Linked DNA regions of Homo sapiens: all the other regions are linked to region 4. Evidence: promoter capture Hi-C in 16 types of primary human blood cells and fetal thymus (Javierre and others, 2016). All regions are on one chromosome and are shown on one strand. The core of a region is centred on a gene start or on the middle of the fragment in contact, and the rest is flanking DNA. Distances in the headings are between cores, read along the strand shown.

Region 1 (5,282 bases), core at 1,479-3,978, 4.2 Mb before region 4:
CCGGCCTCCCTCTGGGCTGTGCCTGAGTTGTACCAGGTGTGTGGGCCTGCTGTCCTCCCCTCCATGTGCGCTCAGCTAACTCTCACCTTCTGCAAGGCTCAAATCTCACCTGCTCTGAGGCCTACCCTGACTGCGCTATTTCATACCGTGAACGCACATTCCTGCTCAGCCCCTTTATCCTGGCTCTACACTTTCCATCCATAGCACTTCCCAACTAATTTATTCATTATATTTATTATTTTATTTCACTCTGCAAAACTGTGAACATCACAAGGACGGGGATCTTGGTCTGCTGGGCTCACCTATGTATCCCCATATACTGAAAACAGGGCCTGCCACAGACTGGTAGTAGGTATTTGTGGAATAAAACTCAGCTCCTTCAGCCGGGTGCGGTGGCTCACGCCTGTAATCCCAGCACTTTGGGAGGCCGAGGTGGTCGGATCACGAGGTCAGGAGATGGAGACCATCCTGGCTAACACGGTGAAACCCCGTCTCTACTAAAAATACAAAAAATTAGCCAGGCGTGGTGGTGGGCGCCTGTAGTCCTAGTTACTCCGCAGGCTGAGGCAGGAGAATGGCATCAACCTGGGAGGCGGAGCTTGCAGTGAGCCGAGACTGCGCCACTGCACTCCAGCCTGGGCGACAGAGCAAGACTCTGTCTCCAAAAAAAAAAAAAAAAAAAAACTCAGCTCCTGCCAGCCAACATCTACAATCACTCCAAACTCCTTGCGATTTTACAATTCCTCAGATGCTTGTCTGCCCCGCCCCTCCCCGCTCCCCTAACAATTCAACCTTCCTCTGTGAAGACTAACCGGAGCCCCCACCTCCACTGATCTCCCAGTCAGGGTCAAGGACCCCACCATTGAGTTGTCTCTGCCAACAGACGAGATCGTTGAGGGCAGAGTAGTCCAGATCTGATGTTACATTCTCAGTAGAGACCTGGCACACAAGGGCAGTCAACAAAAGCTTGTGTCTCTGAAGCTATCCATTATTCTCGTGTCACCAGCAGCATGGCTGCCCTCCTCTCACTCCTTAAGTGCCTGTTCTGCACAAGTATTTAAAGTTCCAAGGTACAATGCCAAAACTAAGACCAAGATGAGTTACAGATGGTGCTGGATGCTTCCTTCCCTCCCAGATGTCAAAACTGCTTAATTTTTTTCTGCTCGCTTGAGGGCAAAGCATGAGAAGTAATGAGTTTTTGGCCAAGCCTGTGACAGAGTCCATGACCCACCTGGCTGGGGCCTCGGACCTGGCGAGCCTGTTTCTCCTGATCCCGCAACCACTGCAGGTAGGATTCCCGAGCCACCTGCTCCTCGATGGCTTCATTTGTGGCCTCCCAGTCTGTGGCCCGTTTCTTGTCTTCTAGCATCTGCTGTTCAATCCATGACTCCTCCGATGTTTTTATGGCATTCTTCATCAGAGACTGCTCTGCAAACTGCAAGGAGGGAGAGGAACAGGGATGTGCAATAACACACTGAACCTGCCCAAGAGCCAGAACAGGCTCAGCGAGGTAGGCCCACAGGCCCCAGAAAAAAAAGGAGACAGGAAAGCAGGTACTCCCAAAGAGCAACACTCCACAGACTACCTCTTGATTGGGGACCAAGGGAAAGCAGGCTTGGGATGTGGGACCTGTCATTCCAAACTCCTATGCTTGTAAGACCTGACTCTAACCCCCAAACCACCTCAACTGAGGCACTGAGACTGGAGCAGTCAGGTGCCTTCCAACCTGGGACTTATTTTTTTTTTTTTTTCTGAGACGAAGTATCGCTCTGTCGCCCAGGCTGGAGTGCAGTGGGGTAATCTCGGCTCACTGCAACCTCCGCCTCCCAGGTTCAAGGGATTCTCCAGCCTCAGCCTCCCAAGTAGCTGGGATTACAGGTGAGTGCCACCACCCCCGGCTAACTTTTTTGTATTTTTAGTAGAAATGGGGTTTCACCATGTTGGCCAGGCTGGCCTTGAACTCCTGACCTCAGGTGATCCACCCGACTCGGCCTCCCAAAGTGCTGGGATTATAGGTGTGAGCCACTGCACCTGGCCCTGGGCCTTAATTTAAAGAAGCCCCATCCAGTGATGACTGTTTCATAATGTTGAGGACTTTCACACACATGAGCAGATGAGACACATACAAAAATTAGCTATGTGTGCACCGGGTGGAGGGAGTATTCAAGCATGTGAGGGGTTGGGGGAAGTAGTGGGTGTGTGAGGGAATAAGGGGGCAGTATCAACATGGTGTGGGGTGCTATGAGTTACAGGACACTACATCAGAGTACTGTTTTTCAGGCTGAGATCCAACAGCATTTTTAAAAAATAGAAAATATCAGAATATATCCCAGGGAATAAGTGCAAATGTTGTTTCATGAAGCTTTAGTTAACATTATTTTAATGCACATATACACATCACACACAAATGCATATATGCTAAGTAATCATGTAAAATGTATTCTTTTCTTTTTCCTGCAGACCTTGCATTCAGATAAAATGTAATTTTTTACTGTGAATAGTTAAAAACAATTCGTAAAACTATGTTAGAACAAGCCAATTAAAAAAATAGTCAAAAAATCTAACCACTCTGGCAGTGTTAAACACACTCCAAGTGTTTTTTCTACTCTCACTCAACAACAATCAACACAGGAGACTTCTGTGACCAAGTGTGCGGGCTGGGGGGAGGGTGTTTTCCCACACAGCAAGCAGCGGACACCTGGTGTCCATCCTCCAATGCAATTCAATACCCAGAGACAGCCTGGGATCCCACAGGTTGAGGGCTCAGTCCCACAAGACTCCCCCCAACCCCCTTCGAACACCAGTCGAAAGTCTGGGCCTCCAGAATTTCTGACTGACCAGCTATAAATTGGGATTCCCACAATACTTTTTTGGGGGTTCAACTAACTTGCTAGAGCAGCTCACAAAACCCAGGAAACACGTCTGCCAGTTTATTATAGAGAAAATTACAAAGGATACAGATGAGATGCACAGAGTGAGATATGGGGGAAGGGACGTGGAGCTTCCATGCCCTCCCTGGGGTGCCACCCTCTAGAAACTTCCATGTATTCAGCTACCCAAAAGCTCCCAGAACCCAATCCTTTTGGGATTCTTTGGAAGCTTCATTATGCAGGCATTATTGATTATGCCATTGGACACTAGTGATCAACCTAATCTTCAGCCTCTCTCCCCTCCCCAAAGGCTGGGGGATGGGCTTAAAGTTGCAAACCTCTAATCCTGCCTTGGTCTTTCAGGTCACCAGCCCCCATCCTGAAGCTACCTAGAGGCTGCCAGCCATCAGTCACCTCATTAGCATACAAAAAGGCAACACTTTGCAGATTCTAAGGATTTTAGGAATTGTATGTCAGGAAGTCACAAACACAATTCACCAAAGAAGCTATACAGATGGCAAATAAGCATATGAAAAGATGCTCAACAGCATTTGCCAATAGGCAACTGCAAGTTAAAATAATGAGATACCACTACACACCTAAGAGAATGGCTAAAATCCAACACAATGACAGTATCAATTGCTGGTAATGCTGACAACAGGAACTTCCAAATCATTATGGTGGGCATGCAAATAATACAGCCACTTGGGAAGACAGTTTCTCAGTTCCTCATAAATCAAAACATAATCTTACAACGCAATCCAGCAATCTTGCTCCCAGGTATGTATACAACTGATCTAAAAAATTACGTCCACAAAAAAACCTGCATGCACATTACAGAAGCTTTATTCATAATCATCAAAAACTGGAAGCAACCAAGAATGTCTTTTAATAGGTGAATAATTAAACTGGTACCTCCATAAAAGGAACATTAAGTGATAAGAAAGAAACCAGCTAACAAGCCATGAAAGAACATGGAGAAACCTTAATGCATACTGCTAAGTGAAAAGAAGCAGTCTGTCACATTGACCATTTTAATTTCAGGGGGGAAAAAAGCAAATTGGCTGCAGGTGGCTCACCCCTGCAATACCAGCACTTTGAGAGGCCAAGGCGGGAGGATCACTTGTCCCCAGGAATTTGAGATTGGCCTGAGCAACACAGTGAGATCCTGTCTCTACAAAATAAAAATATTTTTAAAGTTAGCCAGGCATGGTGGTGTGTGCCTGTGGTCCCAGCTACTTGGGAGGCTGAGGTGGGAGGATTGCTTAAACCCAGGAGGTAAAGGCTGCAGTGATATTGTGCCACTGCACTCCAGCCTGGGCAACAGTGATACACTGTCTCAAAAAAAAAAAAAAAAAACAGTATGAAAAGGCTACATACTGTATGATTACAATTATATGACATTCTGAAAAAGGCAACCCACAAAGACAATAGTGTTTGCAGGAAGAGGGAGGAAGGGAGGGGTAAGCATATGGAGTATGAGGAATTTTAAGGGTGGTCAAACTATTCTGAATAATACTGTAATAGTAGATACATAACATTACACATTTGTCAAAACCCATAGAATGTACAACACAAAGAGTGGACCTTAATATATGCTATTTAAAAAAAAATTAGGAAGGCTGGGCACGGTGGCTCATGCCTGTAATTCCAGCACTTTGGGAGGCCAAGGTGGGTGGATCTCCTGAGGTCAGGAGTTCGAGACCAGCCTGGCCAATATGGTGAAACCTGTCTCTACTAAAAATCAAAAAAATTAGCTGGGCGTGGTGGCGCGTGCCTGTAATCCCAGCTACTCGGGAGGCAGAGGCAAGAGAATCACTTGAACCACGGAGGCTGAGGTTGCAGTGAGCCGAGATCGCACCACTGTACTCCAGCCTGGGTGACAGAGCAAGACTCTGTCTCAAAAAATAAATAAATAAATAAAATAAAATAAAATAAAAATTAGGAGATCTATGGCCAGCGCGGTGGCTCATGCCTGTAATCCCAGCACTTTGGGAGGCCGAGGCAGGCAGATCACCTGAAGTCAGGAGTTCGAGACCAGCCTGGGCAACATGATGAAACCCCGTCTCTACTAAAAATACAAAAATTAGCCAGGTGTGGTAGTGCATGCCTGTAATTCCAGCTACTCGGGAGGCTGAGGCACGAGAATTGCTTGAACCCAGGAGGTAGAGGCTGCGGTGAGTTGAGATCATCGCACCACTGCACTCCAGCCTGGGCGACAGTGAGACTCTGTCTCAAAAATAAATAAATAAAAAATTAGGAGATCTGAGATCCCAGCATAGAATGCAAAAATGTGACAAAATAATACAAATGTATTACAAACATGAAACAACCTTGGCCGGGCGCGGTGGCTCACGCCTGTAATCCCAGCACTTTGGGAGGCCGAGGCGGGCGGATCACGAGGTCAGGAGA
Region 2 (5,243 bases), core at 2,684-5,183, 3.2 Mb before region 4:
CTGTTTTGATAGATCCCCTGAGCTAGAGAACTTTGTTCATTTTCTTTTATTCTGCCCCATTTTTTGTTCTAGAACTATCCCAGGCATTTCTTAGGCACTCGGGAAATTTTACTTTAAAATCAGTATTTCTAGCGGCTAGCACAATGGCTAGCATAATAGTAAGGGCTCAAAAAATGTGAAACAAATAAATAAGAACCATACAAGAAACATTCACTTACCACTCTACATGGCTACGTACTCATCTAACTGTCTCTATTTGCAATGCCAATTTTAAAATGAAAGTTAAAGCTGCATTTAGACATGATAGTTTAGATGTCACTGTGGTCTATTGTTCTAAAGCTTTTTCTTTTGCAATATTAAGTCTGAAGTGCTACCTTTTGTTATACAGAGAAATTCCGTTTTTTTTTAATAAGCTTTAAGATCACAATGTATTTACTCTTTGCTCTGTAAGACCTGAAATGGCTCTTGACCTGTTAACAGTTTGTTGACCATCATGGGAGGTGGGGTGGGAACATCTTTTCAATTTTGTCCAGGGTAGGGGGAGGAGAGCAGAGGACTCATTATGTTGATCTATCTTCACTCTCTTGGCCAAACCCACTCACTTCCATGGGCACAAACACATGGGACACCTGGCTGGATTTCTGTAGAGAGTGGTCTGAGCCATGGGAAAGAAAACAAGTTAACAGTCAGAATCTGTACCTCTTGATTGAACTGTTAATTTTGCCACATTAGCACCACACTCTCACCACTTCGCTTGGGAAGGTATTGTACAGACATTTATACTCACCACACAAATAGCTTCCGAAAAACTTGGGGATCCAAAGGCTGAAGGAGCCTTGTTCATTATCATCATTATCATTATCAATAGTAATACAAGCTAGCATTTATTGAGTGCTTAATCTGTTCTAACTGTTCTACACCTGTTAATACATTTACTCCTATTATCCCATTTTATAGGTAAGAAACCCGAAACAGTGAAGTTAGATAACTTGAACAAGGTGACACAGCTAGTAAGCGTCTGAGTATGGTTGGCTTTGAGCCCAGGCAGTCTGGCTCTGGAGCTCACTCTGTTTTGTTTTGCAATTCGCAAAAGATAAAATGTTCTTTTTTTGAAATGCACATTTTTTGGGGGGAGGGGGAGATTTCGTCCCCCAACTGGAGCCCTCCAAGCTGTCATCGGTCAGTGGCGACACCAAGTGGTAAACTGGGTGTACTGCAGCCCTTTTATAACTCCCAATTCCCCCCAATTCCTTGCTCCCTCCCAACCCCTCCTACTCGCTCCCCAGCTCTCCCAAATAAACCTGTATGTACTTTAAGTAAAGCCAATATGTTTGCTCTGCAGAGGCAGTTTCGTGACATGTCTCCTTCCAACCAGACTGCCATCCTTCAAACCGTTTTTTCCTGTATCAGAGGAAGAGGTGTCCGAGGTTAGTTTGTGTTTTGAATCTCATTTCTCGCCTCTCAATTATTTTACTCCATTAGTTATCCCCTCCTTTTCTTGACTCTTTTGTGTGTGTATGTGAGACAGAGTTTCGCTCTTGTTTCCCAGGCTGGAGTGCCGTGGTGCGATCTCGGCTCACTGCAAATTCTGCCTCCTGGGTTCAAGTTATTCTCCTGCCTCAGCCTCCTGAGTAGCTGGGATTACAGGCGCCAGCCACCATGCCTAGCCATGTATTTTTAGTAGAGATGGGGTTTCATCATGTTGGCCAGGCTGGTCTCGAACTCCTGACCTCAAGTGATCCACCTGCCTTGGCCTCCCAAAGTGCTGGGATTACAGGCGTGAGCCACTGCACCCGGCCTCTTGCCTCTTTATTATTGATTTCACCAGTAGTTTTTCTGCTCGACCTACATATAAGCTCCAGTTTCTTCTACTTCAATGACAAAAAAAAAAATCAAGCAAACAATCAAACCTTTCCTTGAACAATTACTCTAGATTCACCTTTTAAAAGATGAATTCCAAAAGAGGATTGCCTTGCTCAGAAACCTCAATTCTTTCTCAGTCACTTTTTGAATTAGGTATAAATCTTAGTCCAATATTCAGGATGCTCCAAAATTGGGCCCCAATTTACCTTCTGGGTATTATCTTCCACAATTCCCCTGTACTTCCTTACCCTAAACTTCAACCACATAGGACTACTCACGGGTCCTCACATATAACTTCCTGCCTGCTCACCTTTGCCAACGGTGTTACCTCCACTTGGATTTACCTTTATTAGAGGCCTGTACTGATATTTTCTAGTTATTTGTGGCTATCCCATACACCATGAGTGCCTGAAGGAAGGGACTGAATGTTACCAGCTCAGAAAGCAAAAAAATTTTGGACTGAAAAAATAAAAATCCGGCCATTCATCAGGCCGGAATAACACACAGATAAAACCAGATGCAAATTTAACAGAGAACAATATTTCTTTGGCGGACATATTGCAGCTGTAAAGTGGTAACGATGTTTTTATTTCAGTGACCACCACTTTTTTATTCACTGAGAGACTTTGTTCTCTAAAATCGTAGATTATCAGAAACTTTTCTGCTTGAAATCGTATCAGTAAGAATGAAACATCCCACATGCATCTGGAGGACATAAGTTTCTTTGACACAGAGAAGCAGCCTCAATTTCCAACCCAGGTGCAGAGCTTCAGATAAGGGGTATCTGGACACAACATTCCACATCTATCTTTATTTTGTGGTTCCCAAGGAAACACAACTCTGGGTTCACTTTGCAGTTCAGACCTGATGGTGACCCCAAATGACAGTACTGCTTTGCTTTGAGCTTACCAAAAACACTGCTTTGTTTAAAATTCACCTAAACTCCACTCTTCTCTCCAATCCTATAATGACTCCATGTTTTTCTGTTTGATGAAATGCCTACCGTGTGCAGTCTCTCATATTGCAATGGGTCAAAGCCTGACTATGTCGGATTACAAATTTGTCCCCGGTAGCCTTATGCTGATTGGGCTAGGATAGGGGTTTTTAAATCCCTGACCACTTAGCTTGTCCAAAGTAGGCATTCCAAATTGTTCACTGCAGTAGAGTACCCTGGTTCTAGTTAGATTACTTGGATTATATGGATTCCAGTCTCAGGTCTGCCAAGAACTAATTAGCTGGATCATCTTAAGTGAGTCAGTGCACCCCATTTGGCCTAAGTTTTCTCTTCTGCAAAACGGTGTGCTGTTTCTTTCAAACCTAGGGTAAGGGCTTTGGAGTAAGTTAGACCTAGGTTGGATTCCCAGTTCTACCACGTACTAGTCCTGTGACTTCAGCTTTTCTGAGCCTCTGTTTTGTAATGATTAATATGGAGATAATACAGTACTAACAACTGCAGTATAGTTTTTGCAGCGTTGCTGGAAACATCAAGTTGGCTGTTAAAAGTATCACTACGTTTGATCACTATTCCTATTCCTACTATTATATGAGTTTAGACAAGTTACTTAACCTTTCTGTGCCTGTGTATTTTTATGAGTAAAAATGGAGAAATAACCCTCGGGGTTATTGTGAACACCAAATGAGACGAAAAAAGTAAAGGGGTTAGGAGAGTGCCTGGCACATAAGAAGCAGCTCAAATTATGTGATCTAATGTTATTAGTATTAGATTTCTACTACTAATTACTCTGTGGGCCGAAAGCTCAGGATAGACAGTTTCATTCTAAGGACAAACCTTCTCCCCAGCAAAAAAAGGCACTGCAAGCTGGAAATAGTGAAACACAATGGGGCATTGCGTTTTCAAAGGCAACTGACACGCCCAGCACTGGGATAGGACCCGCCCGCCCAGTCCTCATTAAATATGGCAGCGAGCGGGGCCGACGTACTGCGGCTGCGCAAGTTGAAACTCCTCCTGGCAGCTCCTCCCCGGCGGGCCTCCCCTCATCTCGGCTGGGTAGAGGTGCCGGGTGTGAGCTCGGCGTGGCGCGCACGCGCAGACGCTGGCTGGGCTGAGCCGATACTCGCGAGGCGCCCTGTCACATGAGCCGCGCGCCCGCTTCGCTCCCCCTCCTCCCCGGCTGGGCTGTGTGAATGAAGCTCTGCCGGCTACGTGGGGCGCTCACTCAACTTGGTGTCCTGGACGCCAGAGCCGACCGAGCGCGCTGCCCACCGGCGGCGGACACGGGCTCCGCCGCTCCGGACCTCGGCGACAGGTAAAGGCAAACGGGCTGTCCCTTCCCCAACAGGTCCTTGGCGGGCCGCTGGCCCCCGGCCCACCCCCGGAGCACCCCCTAAGCGCAGCGACACAGGGGAAGCGCAATCCCGCTGGCTTGGACCCCCGGAGATGGGGCTTCCCCGCGCCCGGCGTTGGCAGCCCGGCGCTTAGAGGAGGTAGACAGGCTAGTTCCAGCCAGTGCTGAGCGGCGTCTTCCCGGGAGCCCAGCCCTGTTCTCCGAGTTATGGTCCCTGGGTTGCCCGAGCGAAGTTTCCTTGCGGAGCGGCGCCAAGCCCGCCCCGCTTTTGAATCGGAGTGTTTAGCCGCCTGCGTCCCCTTTCCCGGACTGGGGTAGGGTGACTTAGGCTGGCAAAGCTCAGCCGAGGCCCGGCTCTTCTCCCTCCGGCTCTGGACTTGCCGCTGGTTTTGTATGGGTCTTAGCAAAGTGGAGAAACTCTCGGAAAAGTAGTTGCTGCGCTGTTTTCCTTTTGCCACTTAACGCGCGTAGCTGGTTCTCTCCAGACTTTCGAGCCTTGCTCTTGAGCGCCTTGATCCACACGGGAAAAGCTTTGCCTTTACATTGACGCACGTTTCCTTTGATTAACATTTCAGAGCAAATCAGTTGCCTGGAGTTCCCAGTGAAGTTGTACCTGTGCCCGTGCGATAACGTCAGTGGAAGCTGCCCCGAGTAAGTGAGGGAAATCTAGAAGTTTGGAGCATAAAAAACCAGCACGAATCAACTTTACATAAACTTCATACATTTATTAGCAACTGCTCGGGTTTAACTTCAGGGATGTTAAATTTCGCCTAGTCCCACGGGACGATGATCATTACTTCTTAACTGCACGCGAAATAGGAGAAGAAAAAAGGCAAATCAAAACAGACTGTCCCAGGTCTCAGAGAAGTCATCGGAGCGCTTTTTCCTGCTGAATTCACCCTAGGAGTTTGTGAGTTCCTAGTTTTCTTGGACTTCGCGAACTTTTCCTTGTCCAAAGCACTGTCTTTTCTCTGTTGGTGTTTTGGGACTGGTGTACACATTAACCCTTTTGTCATTAAAGAAGGCCAACACGATTCTCAAGCTAGTATTAGCCTTCAGTGTTTGTGCTTTAGC
Region 3 (5,213 bases), core at 2,396-4,895, 3.5 Mb after region 4:
CATTACCACTTTTTGTCTCTTCAGTCCAGTCCAGTCTGGCCTCCTTCCCAACCAGTTCACTCTAACCACTCTTGGCAAGGTCTTTGATGACCTTTGTGTTGCCAAACATACTGATGACCTTCTTCCTTCATCTTAAACCTTTAAAAGCATTTGTTACAGTGGTCCACTCCCTCCTTCTTCAGCTCTCTCCTCCCTTGCTTTCTGTGTTGTCATACTTTCCTGATTGTCTTCTGCCGCCTTCACTACTCAGTCTCTGCTATATGCTCCTCCTCTTCCAGACCTTTTATAGTGTCCCAGAACTCAGTCCTGGGCTTTCTCTTCTCTTTCCTCCACTTTACTCTCTTTCTCTTTCTTTTCATTTACAGAGTGAGTAGGTCAATCAGATGATCCAAAATTTGATTTTTAAAAAATTAGTTTATATTCTATTACTATCACAATGAAAAGACACAAAGATGAAATTATCACAGAGAACTTTCTTTTATGTTCATGGACCCCCATGGAGTTCTGAGCACCTCAGAGAAATGAGAGAATTCTGGCCATATAGAACATATAAAGTGCAGAAACTCCACAATCTATACATAACATACTAATAGCTCAACATATATTTTTGAAAATAGATTGTTTTTACTATCAAACTGGTCAGCCTCGATAATGGCTTCAGCATTTGGGCCTTATCTATAATAATTACAACAACAACTACTACCAATTTAGTGATAACCTACAATGGTCTAGGCTCTGTATCAGGTGCTTTACATATAGCATCTCATCCTACCTTCACACAATCCTGAGATATAGATAATACCATCACCATTTTTTCATTTGAAGAAACTGAAGCACAGAGGCATTAAATTGATAGTTGAAGACTATAGAGTCAGTTTATGAAGAAGCTGTGTTTAAATTCCAGGTTGACTAGGATTTAACTGATTTCAAAACTGGCTTTTTAGTGCTATGCTTGTATAGGCCATTCTCACATTGCTATAAAGAAATGCCTGAGACTGGGTAATTTATAAAGAAAAGAGGTTTAATTGGCTCATGGTTCTGCAAGCTATACAGGAAGCATAATGGCTTCTGGTTTTAGGAAGGCCTCAGGAAGCTTCCAATCATGGTGGAAAGCAAAGAGGGAGCAGTTGTCTTACATGGCAAGAGCCAAGAGCAAGAAAGGGGGGCATGCTACACACTTTTAAAGGACTAGATCTCACAAGAAATCACTCACTATTGCAAGGACAGTACCAAGGGGGATAGTGCTGAACCATTCATGAGAACTCTGCCCCTGTGACCCAATCACCTCCCACCAGGCCTCACCTCCAATATTGAGAATTACAATTCAACATGAGATTTGGTGGGACAGAGATCAAAATCATATCAATGCTCTTCATCTAATTTACTGATTACTTAAATTGTCCTGCAATTTTGGAGAACATGTATAGTTCAGAAGAAAGAGGTTAACTGTGTGATTTTTTTTAAGAAGAAACTTTAAACGTATTTCTTTTTCATCAATGAGAATGCATGAAGTACTGCTACACAGAACAACAGAGATGAATCTTACAAATATAAAGTTGAGCAAAAAATGCCAGACTCTAGGTAATATATACTAACTGATTCCATGCACATAAAGTCCAAAAACAGGTACAACTAATTTTTGTGTGCTAGAAACTAGAATGGTGATAATCTTAGTAGAGGGTTTTGGCACTGGTAAGGAGTATGAAGGATGCAAGGAATATTCTGTTTCTTCATCTGGCTGCTGGTCACACAAATGTGCTCATAGAGCTCAACACGCATGATTTGTGTGTTTTCTGTCTATATGCTATACCTCAATAAATTTACTTTAAAATTATTCATTTTAATTTAACTACATGGCTAGATATGAATTCACATATTCTTCAAGTCAGTGCTCCTATTATTGGACTACTGCAATTCTAATCAATAGTCACAAACATATATATCCTTACTCATTTCATTCAAACTGACTAGGTTTGAATCCTAGCTTTGCCACATACTAGATATGTGACCTTGAGCAATGACTTAACAGCTCTGCACCTTATTTTTCTCATTTATCAAATAAGAATAATTAGTATCTACTTGTAAGAATGCAATGATTTAATTGCTACCCCTTAGCTAAAGATCACCAAAGCATCATAATTATTTCCATAATTATTCTCATCACTTTGCTGTTTCCACTGAACAATTGCCTTGACCAGACAATTCTTCACGTCCCTACATGGACAATTATAAATGTCTTCTAAGAAGTAATACACAATGTTTTTAAAATCCTGGAAGCACAGCTACTGGAAAATCCTAAGATTTTGAATCCACTCAATGTCATCTGCACAATTGTTACTTACCTAATTTCCAGAGAAAATTGTAAAAGGTGATTTTTCCACAGAACATATTCATACCTACAAAGTTCAGGCTCTAGGGAGAATTTCTCTTCTTGACCTGAAGTACCTAAAGTACTCTCTTTGACCTACTACCAATATGCTTGTCCACTTTGCCAAGGGCCTTCTCTCATTTATTGCACTTATTCTTTTATTCTGAGACATAATTAAAGTTTCTATTCAAAAGTAACTTGGCTTTCTCTGTGTTCAGATGAATTAACTAATTCCCTGTATTCATATGTCTAACTTAGCTTTTCTGGTTCGATGGCTGCTTCATTTTTTGAGGCATATTGTTCAGAAAATCTATACATTATTCAAAAATTTATACACATCAAAATCACTCATTTCTATGCTTTCCATTCTAATTTTTTATCTGTTGAGCAAAATCAACAGAAAATTTTAATAATCCAACAACAAACAAAAATTGAGTTGTTATTTTTGCCTAATGACTGATAGGAAGTTACCCCAGTCCAAAACTTGCTACAAAATTTTGTAACCTATTTGTATTTAACCTGGTTTTTCTATGTCAGGAAAGTTCCCATTGCCTCTTTTCTCGGAATCCTAAAGCTATCCTAAATCCTCTCAGTCTGGAATTCTTATTCTCCTCAGATTATGCCCCATGCTCTGCACTATTTTTCTTCTGAAGAGGATTTGGATTTCATTTAGAAACCCATTTAAAATTGTACTACCATTCAAATATTCTTTGTCTCATCTTCTGTTTCATGACTCTTGTTATTCACTCTCTATCCTTTTCTGCCTATGTCATCATCATGCAGTATAGTTCTTTCCTTGGCTAATGTCCTCTGGCTGCATTTCTTCACAGAAGCTTATTTTTCCTATCTTCTCTTTTTGGTTATTTCTAGTTTTTCTCCATCCAGTCAGATATATTTCCTGTCACTTTCTTTCCAAGTTATGTTTTACCAGCTATTCTCTCCTTGATTATTTCTGTGTATTTTGAGTGATTATTACACTACACACTAAACTTTCACCTACATGTTGTGAACGTGTAACTATGTATTCCATCTGGTATCATGACCCTATAAACTTCTCCCATAACAATGTATTACTAAGTTATTAATTCTAACTGAAAATAAACTGTACTTGCTTATTTGACTAATGTTGCTCTTTCCGAGCAACATTGTCAGTAAGGGACTATAAGTTACCTTTCAACTACACCCCACCTCAAGAACTAGAAAATGAGAGCTATTTGAGTGTATTTTGAGGATTATGTTGTAGGATCAGCACATCACTAATCAAGGAACACAGATGTAAAATTATCTGAGGAGACAAAATGAATTTTGGGCCCTTAAAGTATAAGTATACTGTGACCTGGCTGACTGTATTAGCATCTTAAGAAAGAATGAACCACAAAGGCATAGGGAAAAGTTGGTCCCTGAAGTAAGGATTGGCAGCAACCAATGGATACAGGTGCCTTAGCCACTTGACTTCCAGTATTTTCAACCCTATAATCAATATCATCTCTGTTGGGAGATGAATGCACAGCACTAGCTTTGATTTATGTCATTAAACTGTTAGTTTATGATCTTATGAATCATGGTTTACCCAACAACCATCCTGCTATATCCCATCATATGTCTTTCAGATGATTTTGCTTGTGTCTGCTCTGATTAATGACGTAGGCTTATAATTTACATTCAAAGGGCAATCAAGTAGCTCTAATTTTCTAGTTCTGATTTTTATTTGGCTTCCTATTTAAGCTTTGAGAAGGGAAATGTGCTGGATGCATACACATAAGTAGTTTAGGTAGGCATCACAGTCCTGTTTCTCACTGGAAAATAATAAATTGGCATTCTCCCGTCTATCTCAGTCTCATCTGCTGTTTCATTTGTGTGAGTCAGTAACTCAGGGCCTGCACTATTCTGGCAGCTGGTAAAAGTGAGACCTTTGGACCTGCAAAACATAACAAAAGCCAGCAAGGCAACACTTAAATAACTGTTGAGACATACTGAAGTTGACATCTAAAGTTTGTCACCGTATATTTAAATAATTGCAAGAATACAATTTCTGGGATATTATGAATATTGACATTTTGAAATAAACTGTTACGTCCATTAAAGCGAACTAAATATGGCCTGAGAAGGGCTCTGTACTTCTATATTTGAGTCTTTGTAGACCATTTCTAACCTAACTTAATAGGTAGACAAGATTGAAAACCTAAATTAGGAGTGTGTGCCTGTAACAATAGCTGAGTCTTGGCCAATTCCAGCAGCCATACTTCAACCACTCATACACTGCTGAGTGTTCACACTCTGTTCAAATAATGCAAACACCAACCTGTAACCAATCCAGCTGTTTCTGTACCTCACCTCCGATTTCTGTACATCACTTTCCTTGTTTTGTCTATAAATTTATTCTGACCACAAGGCTTCCCAGGAATCTGTTTGAATCTGCTGTGATTCTGGAGGCTGCCCAATTTGTGAATTTTTTTTTCTTGCTTAATTAAACTCTGTTTAATTTTCCAAAGTTTTCTTTTAACACGTCAGCCTCTTAAATGTATCCAGCAGACCCTAAATACTATAGCAACTTGAGATCTGCCTCATGCATCTTTAAAATATAATAACAGATTCTTCTTTAACAGTTGAAAAATTTATGTTGTACATTTTTTCTTTAATATTTCTATTTATTTTATAAATAGAAGATATTTAATATTTTTCTTTAATATCTCTATTTGTTTTCTCCACAGAATTTTTGTCCTAATTTTATATATTTTATGTTAAAAAGCCTTTCATTGATCACCCTATTCATGCTTCTCTACCACAAAAATTATACAAACTAAATTAATTTTAAAGGATAAAACTGTTCTGTATTAAAGATAAA
Region 4 (5,234 bases), core at 1,958-4,457:
TCTCACTTCCTGTGGGGCCGGAATCTGTATTTATCCATCCCCCTTTCCCTTCTTTATAGAAGTCCCTGTCCTAAACTCCCTCCCTAGCCCAAGAGAGCCCCAGAACTGGGGAAGCCTGACCCATACAGAATGGGGAGGGCACTCTAGGCAGGAGAGACATTAATGAGCCTGGCTGCAGAGTGGCCCTGGAAAGGCAGGCCAGAGTGGCTGAGAGGCTGGGAGTAGGGGAGCCTGTTCTCTCAGCGATAGTGATGGGGGTGCCTTTCCGAGGGGGTGGGGTGGGAAGACCAAGGGGGTGGGGGGTAGATAGGGTACATTTAGGAGGGTTTTCCTCCATTTCTTTTTTCTAACTGCCTGGATTCACCATTGGATTTTGTAAATGGAAAAACTGAAATGAACAATGCTATACTGGATGTTTTCTCTTTCTGACTGTGTGTGTGTGTGTGCGTGCGTGCGTGCATGTGCCCTGTCTGACCACATGTGGAGAGACATGATTGAGTGATAGTGTGTGTCTGTGTGACTTTGTGTGGGGAGGCACTCCTGAAGAAAACTTGCCCGGTGCACACACGTAAAATGCCTGTATATGGGGACAGATACAGCACGTGCATGCATACACACACACACACACACACCACAGTTGAGAGGAGACAAACTAGAGTATGTGCCCGTGGTAGGAAGTCGAGTGGTCAAGAGATGGATCTTGGAAACTACATAGGTCGGTAGCAAGAGGGTAGACTCCCATCTCACAAGATGGGCCTCCCTTGGCCCAGGCCCTGAGCACGGGAGGGCTGGGGCCGCCAGGGAACTTGAAAACCTCATCTCCTCACAAAGCCTGTAGCCCCATCTCAACCCCGTCTCAGTCTCCTTCCCAAACTCAAACAAGGTGTTCCTAAAATTGGACCACCATGGAGAATGGGGACTGGGAATTGAGGATCAAATGTGAGGGAAACTGATGAGGTTAGGAAATGCCCCCCACAAAGTAATGGCTTCTGGAGGGACTGCTCAGTCTGGGATGGGAGCCCTTCCTAGGGGCCACTGTATGCAGCTGGGACTTTGGTCAGCTTTGACCAAATTTAGAGGGAGGGATGTCATGGGGAAAAAAAACCCAAGCCCAGGAGTCTACCCAGCCAGCCTGCTCCCTAGACAGTTAATTTACTATCTGGTTATTCTCTCAGGTGCACAGAATTGAGTTGACCATACTCCTCAGTTCTTGGCACACTATATCATCATTGGTCCATGTGAGGCCCTTTTATTTTTTTTTCTTCAGTTTTGTCCCCTTCATCACCCATTCCTGATCCCATCCTCCCCGCCCCCTACACAGGCACCCACTCTCGTGTATTTAACGTACGTCCTTCCAATCCACCGTTCATGTGTTTATTTACATATATGTGTATCTGTGAAAAATGTATGGTATTGCTGTGTGTTTTAATTTACATAAACAGTATTGTACTATAAATCTTGTTGTTTCTTTTTTCACTCAACATTCTGTCTTTGAGAGATCCAGCCATGTTGCCGTATATAGATCTAATTCATTCTAGTGGTCCATCTAAAACATATATCACATTTTTCTTATCCACTCCCCTGATGATGGATCCCTAGGTCTCCTCTCTGCTCCGCGACAAGGCTGCAATGGGCAGTTACCTACACCTCTCTTGAGGGATGCCTAATTTAGGGGAGAGAAAACTGAAGCTCAGAGAGGGGCAGTGATTTGGTTAAGGTTACAAAATGAGGGGCACACCCATGATGTGAATCCCAGCACCAAAGCCAGCCCTCCACCACCATGCCTCACAAAAGACCATCCATCTCTGGTTTAAAAAGAAAAATCTTAAAATACAGCATACACTGGGGAAAGGGAGAGGAAAGGATGGAAAGGGGGAGAAATGAAGAGACAGAAAGTGCTAGAAAATTCTAGCAGATGAGCTGAATCACAATCATTTTTATGACGCAGAGGAAGTTACTTTTTTGTGTGTGTGATTATTATTTGTAGAGCCATTTTGCGGAGATGGAAAACGCCACGTCAAAACCTGGCCCCCAAACCAAACACCCTGGGTGCCTAAATTGCAGGCGCAGGCGGTAGGGCAGCCCGAGCCCCCGAGGAGCTACAGCAGAGTTCACCCAGGGGGCAAACGTGGGGGGTGGGGGAAGGGGCAGAAGTGGAAGGTAGGAAAAGAGGCAGAAGCGGGGGGGCGGGGGGCAGGGGTTGTGTGAGGGAAGGGGCAGAAGTTGGGGGATAGGGGAAGGGCAGAAGCGGAGGGCGGGAGGGTGAGGGAAGGGGCAGAAGTGGGGTTGGGGGGTGAAGGAAGGGGCAGAAGTTGGGGGATAGGGGAAGGGGCAGAAGTGGGGGTGAGGGAAGAGACAGTTGGGGGATGGGGGTCAGAAGCAGGGAATGCGGGAAGGGGCAGAAGGGGGGGTGAGGGAAGGGGCAGAAGCGGGGGAGGAAGGGGCAGAAGCGGGGGGTGAAGGGGCAGAAGCGGGGGTGGGGTGGGGGAAGGGGCCGAAGCGGGGGATGGGGGAAGGGGCAGAAACGGGGGGTGGGGGAAGGGACAGAAACGGGGAGTGGAGGAAGGGGCAGAAGCGGGGATGGAAAAAGGGGCAGCAGTGGGGGATGGGAGAAGGGGCAGAAGCGGGGGTGGGAGAAGGGGCAGGAGCTGGGATGGGGGAAGGGGCAGGACCCGGGATGGGGGAAGGGGCAGAAGCGGGGGTGGGGGAAGGAGCTGAAGGAAATGGGGGAAGGGGCAGATTTTAAAAGTGCGTAGTTGCTGAGGGGAGGGGGGCGGGGGGAACGATAACGAGGCTCTTCCAATTTCATGTGAGCACATCCTGCTCAGCGCCTGCGTTTGTTTTTCGTCTCGTTTTTTGGTCTTCAGAACCACTGGTACTTTTCCCATTGGATAAAACGCTGAGAGGGTGAGGGAGAGGGGCTTCTTCCCCAGCTTTCCTCGCAGCCAATCGCCCTGCAGTTTCCCTCCCGTCGCTGAGGGAGTCAGCCCGTTGATTGGCGGGCCCGAGGGGAGCCAATCGGAAACTGATGATGTGTGGTGTTGGCAAGCGGATTGCGTGAGAGCGGGCAGGGGTCGCGGGAGCGCGATCGCCGCCGCGGCGGCCGGCAGCCAATGGCCAGGCCGAGCGGACCCCTGCGTCAGGAGTGGGCGGGGCTTCGGCGATTGGCGCGGAGGGAGTAGAGCGGGCGCTGTGGGAGGGAACGCCAGAGCGAGGTGGTGAGGAGAGCTGGTTGCGTGAGTCTCCTCAGCTCTGCTTACCGGTGCGACTAGCGGCAGCGACGCGGCTAAAAGCGAAGGGGCGAGTGCGAGTCCCCTGAGCTGTACGAACGCGGTCGCCATGGACCGCCCAGATGAGGGGCCTCCGGCCAAGACCCGCCGCCTGAGCAGCTCCGAGTCTCCACAGCGCGACCCGCCCCCGCCGCCGCCGCCGCCGCCGCTCCTCCGACTGCCGCTGCCTCCACCCCAGCAGCGCCCGAGGCTCCAGGAGGAAACGGAGGCGGCACAGGTGCTGGCCGATATGAGGGGGGTGGGACTGGGCCCCGCGCTGCCCCCGCCGCCTCCCTATGTCATTCTCGAGGAGGGGGGGATCCGCGCATACTTCACGCTCGGTGCTGAGTGTCCCGGCTGGGATTCTACCATCGAGTCGGGGTATGGGGAGGCGCCCCCGCCCACGGAGAGCCTGGAAGCACTCCCCACTCCTGAGGCCTCGGGGGGGAGCCTGGAAATCGATTTTCAGGTTGTACAGTCGAGCAGTTTTGGTGGAGAGGGGGCCCTAGAAACCTGTAGCGCAGTGGGGTGGGCGCCCCAGAGGTTAGTTGACCCGAAGAGCAAGGAAGAGGCGATCATCATAGTGGAGGATGAGGATGAGGATGAGCGGGAGAGTATGAGGAGCAGCAGGAGGCGGCGGCGGCGGCGGAGGAGGAAGCAGAGGAAGGTGAAGAGGGAAAGCAGAGAGAGAAATGCCGAGAGGATGGAGAGCATCCTGCAGGCACTGGAGGATATTCAGCTGGATCTGGAGGCAGTGAACATCAAGGCAGGCAAAGCCTTCCTGCGTCTCAAGCGCAAGTTCATCCAGATGCGAAGACCCTTCCTGGAGCGCAGAGACCTCATCATCCAGCATATCCCAGGCTTCTGGGTCAAAGCAGTATCCTTCTAATCGATACTCCGTAGGTCAGAAGCCCGTGACAGGAAAGGGGAAGGTGGGGGAGGGACAGAAAAGGTAAAGCGGGTGGAGGAGAGCCAGAGGTGGGCATGATCCCCCTATCGGAAGACGGACTAGACTGGGTGGAAGAGGGATGGAAGGAGGAGGGCAAAACAGCAGAGAAGCTGGACTGGAGATGATGAAGGGTGGTGGAGGGGGGGCGGACATAAAAACTGGACCACAGATGGGAAAGGGGGAAGAGGAGGAACATAGCATTAAAAAAAGGATCACAGATGATAAAAAGGGGGAGGGTAGTAAAGGGGCACACAGCAAAAAAATTGGACCAGAGATGGTGAAAGGAGGAGGGGAGGGGCACGTAGAAGATGAACTGACTCAGAGACCTTGAAGAGGGAGGGGAATGGCACACAGCAGAGAAACTGCCCAGAAAGGGTGCTTGAGCCATACAAGGCTCTGTAAACCTAGATTTTTGCTTAAGATACTAGGAGACCCCAATCCTGGCTGGAGTGCCTTGCATTGGAGGGAGGGGGGCTGGAGCCCCTGAAAGATCAAGAGAGGGAGTGTCTAGGTATAGAGAAAAAGGAGTTAAATGAAGGAAAGGGGAGAGTAGACACATACACATACATGTAACATGTTAGGAACATGAGTCGAACATCCTAATAGAATTATGTGGATACAGACCCTTAGCCCTCATATGAAACAGCACATGGTAAGAGGCCCTTAGCACCCAGGCATACAATATCATTTAGACATAGGACCTCAGCTCCTAGACACAGTATTATGTGACCACAGGTCCTCAGCATGTAGACACATGGCATAACTTGACCACAAGCCATCAGAGCCATTCACACATCATGTGGACATGGACCTTCAACACCCATACATACAATAACGTGACCACAGGCCCTCAGCAATCAGTTACAGCATCACTTGGACATGGCCCTTAAGCCCCCAGACGTGCATTTTGTGAACACAAGCTTTCAGCACCCAGTGACATATACCACATGCACATGGATTGTCGACACCCTGTAGGGCCACCTAACATAGAGGTTTATCATGGGAATAAGTATGGG
Region 5 (4,726 bases), core at 1,988-4,487, 4.4 Mb before region 4:
CTTCCTAACTGCTCATTATACACTAATTATGATGCACTAGCATGCTAAGAGACACTTCCACCAGCGCCATGACAGTGCCATGGCAACATCAAGAAGTCACCCCACATGGTCTAAAAAGGGGAAGAACCTTCAGTTCCCGGAATTGCCCACCCCTTTCCTGGAAAACTCATGAATAATCCACCCCTTGTTTAGCATATAATTAAGAAATAACTGTAAGTATCCTTAGTCCAGCAGCCCAAGCTGCTGCTCTGCCTATGGAGTAGCCATTCTTTATTCCTTTACTTTCTTAATAAACTTGCTTTCACATTAAAAACAACAACAACAACACCAACAACCAGCAAATATATCAGAGGCTTAGCATCCCCTATTCAAGGGGACAGTTCTGGAGGCCGAGAAAGAAGTAGAAAGGTGGAGAATAAAAGACACAAAGGAGCAGAAGAATTTTATCTTGGCCTCCATGTGGCACCTCACAGCTTGGGAACAACAATTTCTCTCATAATTTTCCTCAGCTCCACCACTCACAAGCTGTGTGACCTCGGGCAAGGCACCCAAGCTCCTCTGGGCCTCAGCTTCCCAGTCAGTACAATGGGGTAACAGTAGTGCTTACGTTTTTTGTGTTTTTTTTTGAGATGGAGTCTTGCTCTTGTCACCCAGGCTGAAGTGCAATGGCACGATCTCGGCTCACTGCAACCTCCGCCTCCCAGGTTCAAGTGATTCTCCTGCCTCAGCCTCCTGAGTAGCTGGGATTACAGGTGTGCACCACCACACCAGGGTAATTTTTGTATTTTTAGTAGAGACGGGGTTTCATCATGTTGGTCAGGCTGGTCTCGAACTCCTGACCTCGTGATCTGGCTGCCTCGGCCTCCCAAAGTGCTGGGATTACAGGCGTAAGCCACCGCACCCGGCCAGTAGTGCTTACTTTGTGGGGTCATCTGTGAATGTGAAATGAGTTAATAAATGGAAAGCACTTAGAAAAGCCTCTGGAACCACTGAATCAAATTGGATATCATTACTGAACCTTCATTCAATGCTTCAATACCCATTTAGTGTCATCTGTCCAAATGCTGGAGATACGCCTAGCACACACTGACTGCTCAGTGAGCAGTGTCACAATGAACACGTGCAATGGCCTTGAAGGCCACATCGGGGCTTGCCCTGATCAGCAGGTTGGAGGTGCTCCAGGCCCGAAGCTTAGCTGTGAGTGGGGACACGGGAGGGAGGTTGGAACTGCCACTGCAGAAGGGGTTCTGAACCTAGGTTCAGGAGAGAGGCTTTGAACCTGCACGTGTGGGAAGCCATGGAAGTTTCCAGGAAGGACTGCAGGTCCCAACTGGAGATGTGCCGTTCCTCCTTCAGGTACCTGGGAATGTCAGTCACACCCCAGACCTGCTCAGCTCCCCCAAACTGCTGTTCCTGTATCTGAGAGCTTCAAGTCTCCAAATGGCCTACCTCATACATGGGGAAACTGAGGCCTGGGGAGGCCGGGGACTGAGCTAGCATTCACTTGTGGAAATAGTCTGGCATCATCTGGAGAAGTTAGAGACATGCAAACCCTACAGCCCTCAGATTCCCGTCTGAGAGTCTGCATGCCTATGTGGACCAGGAGATGTGTGCGGGAGTGAACACTGCAGTGTTGCTCCCAACAGCAAGAACCAGAAGCAGCCCAAAGGGCTGTTACAGGAGAATATGGACACCCAGGCTGCACATGCACACCATGGAATGCTGTATGGCAGTGGAAATAAATGAACAGCTACCACTATAGGCAAACAGGAATCACAGCAACAGCCAAGAGTGAAGGCGTGGAGGGACGAGACCATGCACTCACACCTGGCCTGCCTGGCTCGCACTCCGGGCAAAGGGGTCAGAACAGTGACTGGCACACACGTTAAGTGCTATGTGAGTGTTAAGATAAAACTAGGATGTCCAGTGGGGAGAAAGCAAGCCTTTGAAGATTATGTGCTTTTACAAACTTCAAGTGCAATGAAAACTAAACAAGATGTTGTTCAGGCATTCATATATGATATAAAGTTCCTTTCTTTAAAAAAGGGATGGGCTGGGCACGGTGGCTCACGCCTGTAATTCTAATACTTTGGGAGGCCGAGGCAGGTGGATCACGAGGTCGAGAAATCGAGACCATCCTGGCCAACATGGTGAAACCCTGTCTCTACTAAAAATACAAAAAAATTAGCTGGGCGTGGTGGCGTGTGCCTGTAGTCCCAGCTACTTGGGAGGCTGAGGCAGGAGAGTCACTTGAACCCGGGAGGCAAAGGTTGCAGTGAGCCGAGATCGTGCCACCGCACTCCAGCCTGGCGACAGAGTGAGACTCCATCTCAAAAAAAAAAAGAAAAAAAAAAGTATGACAAGCAGAAAGTAATTTGGGAGCTGCGGGGAGGCAAGGGTAAGGGATGGGGAAGTGGACCAGAGGCATATGCGTCATTGGCAGTGTCTAAGCACTCACGATAGGCGTGGATCACAGGGGCTCGCTCTGTAATTAAAAGGAAAAGGGTTTTTGTTGTGTTGTTGTTGTTGCTGTTTTTGAGACAAGGGTCTTGCTCTGTCATCATCCAGGCTGGAGTGCAGTGGTGCAGTCTCAGCTCACTGCAACCTCCGCCTCCTGGGTTCAAGCGATTCTCCTGCCTCAGCCTCCTGAGCAGCTAGGACTACAGGTGTGTGCCACCATGCCTGGCTAATTTTTGTATTTTTTAGTGGAAATGGGGTTTTGCCATGTTGCCCAGGCTCGTCTTGAACTCCTGACCTCAAGTGATCCACTCGTCTCGGCCTCCCAAAGTGCTGGGATTACAGGTGTGAGCTATTGTCCCCAGCCAAAAGGAAAAGTTTTACTGTAGTAACCCTTCCGGACTAGGGACCTCGGGCCTCAGCCTCAGGCTACCTAGGTGCTTTAGAAAGGAGGCCACCCAGGCCCATGACTACTCCTTGCCACAGGGAGCCCTGCACACAGATGTGCTAAGCTCTCGCTGCCAGCCAGAGGGAGGAGGGTCTGAGCCAGTCAGAAGGAGATGGGCCCCAGAGAGTAAGAAAGGGGGAGGAGGACCCAAGCTGATCCAAAAGGTGGGTCTAAGCAGTCAAGTGGAGGAGGGTTCCAATCTGATGGCGGAGGGCCCAAGCTCAGCCTAACGAGGAGGCCAGGCCCACCAAGGGGCCCCTGGAGGACTTGTTTCCCTTGTCCCTTGTGGTTTTTTGCATTTCCTGTTCCCTTGCTGCTCATTGCGGAAGTTCCTCTTCTTACCCTGCACCCAGAGCCTCGCCAGAGAAGACAAGGGCAGAAAGCACCATGAGTGGGGGCCCAATGGGAGGAAGGCCCGGGGGCCGAGGAGCACCAGCGGTTCAGCAGAACATACCCTCCACCCTCCTCCAGGACCACGAGAACCAGCGACTCTTTGAGATGCTTGGACGAAAATGCTTGGTGAGCTGGGGATCTCCTGCCCCCGCCCCGTCCCCACCGTTTCTTCCTCTTCCTCTCCTCCTTCTCTCTCTTCCCCTCCTCCCGCTCCTCCTTTCCCTCTCCATCATCTCCTCTCCTAGAATTTCCCGTCATAATCCACCCTTCCCAGGAAGATCTCAATGTCTACTTGCCTTCCCTCTGGCTGCAGCTCTTCCTTTGGGCCCATGACTGTCATGAGGCAGGAAGGACCAGGTCTGGCTCCAAGACCTTGTGGCTACCCCTGACCAGACTCCACTGACCCCTGCTTTCCTCTCCCAGACGCTGGCCACTGCAGTTGTTCAGCTGTACCTGGCGCTGCCCCCTGGAGCTGAGCACTGGACCAAGGAGCATTGTGGGGCTGTGTGCTTCGTGAAGGATAACCCCCAGAAGTCCTACTTCATCCGCCTTTACGGCCTTCAGGTGACCCCCCCACCCCCGACTGGACTTGCAAGCCAGTTCTCAACCCGCAAACCCAGATCTGTGTCCATATGTGTCCATAGCTTCAAGACCTCAGACCTGATCAGTGAATCCCTGAGCCCCAGAACCAAAGACTCATCCAGATGGCAAACTCTGACTTGCCTTTCTAAGTCTGCAATGACTGGCCCCAGTCTCCGTATCAAGATCTCTAAAGCCCCCAGTATTAGTCTGCTGCCTAAGCCTAATCTTTTCCACAAATTCCAATAAATGAGCACTGTATTTGTACCTGAACCTCAAATCTATTCTAAACTCAACATTTTGCATCCCAGGAATCTCTCATCAAAACTCCTGAACCCCAGATGTTTGCCAAGCTCCTAAGTCATAAATCTGTTCAACAAACCCCAAAGTTGAATATTCCATTGATCCTTGAACTCCAAATCTGTCCTTCTAAATCCACAGCACAGACCCCAGAGTTCCCATATTAAAATTCCTGAACACTCAAATACCGAGGTAGTTCTTAAGCAAAAAGTCTTTTCCACAATCCCCTGACCTGAACTTTCTAGGTTTAAGCCCCAAATTCATCCTTTTAAACCCATAAAGATGGACCCAGCATAACTTCCAGATCCCAAGGCTATCAAATATCCACCAAACTCCTAAACCATAACTCTCTCCACAAACCCCAAATTGCACTTACTTTAGCTGGACTCCCCGCGAAACTCCCAAGTCTATGTGTCTGAACTTCAAATCTCAACTCCAACCCCCAAATACTAGAATCCTACCTGTCATGAATTGGGGCTGGGGTGGTGGGGGAGGGCATGGATTGAATCTGTGAATGAGCCTCAACTTCCTAAGACTAGAGTCCTAAAT

Evidence for each region. The method cuts DNA at HindIII sites, captures the fragments that hold promoters and counts their contacts. A CHiCAGO score of 5 or more calls a contact.
Region 1: a contact is called between a fragment that was not itself captured here and the fragment with the promoter of TSPYL2 in region 4, in 1 of 17 cell types (monocytes). The highest score is 5.0, in monocytes.
Region 2: the fragment with the promoter of CLCN5 here is called in contact with the fragment with the promoter of TSPYL2 in region 4 in 1 of 17 cell types (neutrophils); the score reaches 7.0 in neutrophils.
Region 3: a fragment that was not itself captured here is called in contact with the fragment with the promoter of TSPYL2 in region 4 in 1 of 17 cell types (monocytes); the score reaches 5.5 in monocytes.
Region 5: a contact is called between the fragment with the promoter of WAS here and the fragment with the promoter of TSPYL2 in region 4, in 1 of 17 cell types (monocytes). The highest score is 5.6, in monocytes.

What each region holds. Positions count from the first base shown.
Region 1 is chrX:48,924,616-48,929,897 of GRCh38, forward strand. OTUD5 (OTU deubiquitinase 5) reads right to left here. Exons shown (of 9, transcript NM_001136157.2): 6 at 1,232-1,435. Among named protein-coding and RNA genes, the nearest start is that of PIM2, 8.2 kb to the left of the region's middle. RefSeq lists an enhancer at 2,842-3,480. The HindIII fragment of the contact is 737 bases long and covers 2,361-3,097 here.
Region 2 is chrX:49,918,663-49,923,905 of GRCh38, forward strand. CLCN5 (chloride voltage-gated channel 5) reads left to right here and starts at 3,934. Exons shown (of 15, transcript NM_001127898.4): 1 at 3,934-4,130; 2 at 4,745-4,820. RefSeq lists a silencer at 4,196-4,245. The HindIII fragment of the contact is 4,286 bases long and covers 412-4,697 here.
Region 3 is chrX:56,550,813-56,556,025 of GRCh38, forward strand. No RefSeq gene overlaps it. Among named protein-coding and RNA genes, the nearest start is that of UBQLN2, 10 kb to the right of the region's middle. The HindIII fragment of the contact is 892 bases long and covers 3,200-4,091 here.
Region 4 is chrX:53,079,160-53,084,393 of GRCh38, forward strand. TSPYL2 (TSPY like 2) reads left to right here and starts at 3,208. Exons shown (of 7, transcript NM_022117.4): 1 at 3,208-4,146. The coding sequence starts at 3,340. GPR173 (G protein-coupled receptor 173) reads left to right here. Exons shown (of 2, transcript NM_018969.6): 2 at 1-1,456. RefSeq lists silencers at 3,073-3,182, 3,453-3,502, 3,533-3,582. The HindIII fragment of the contact is 18,116 bases long and covers 1-5,136 here.
Region 5 is chrX:48,680,562-48,685,287 of GRCh38, forward strand. WAS (WASP actin nucleation promoting factor) reads left to right here and starts at 3,238. Exons shown (of 12, transcript NM_000377.3): 1 at 3,238-3,424; 2 at 3,722-3,862. The coding sequence starts at 3,293. The HindIII fragment of the contact is 18,512 bases long and covers 1,189-4,726 here.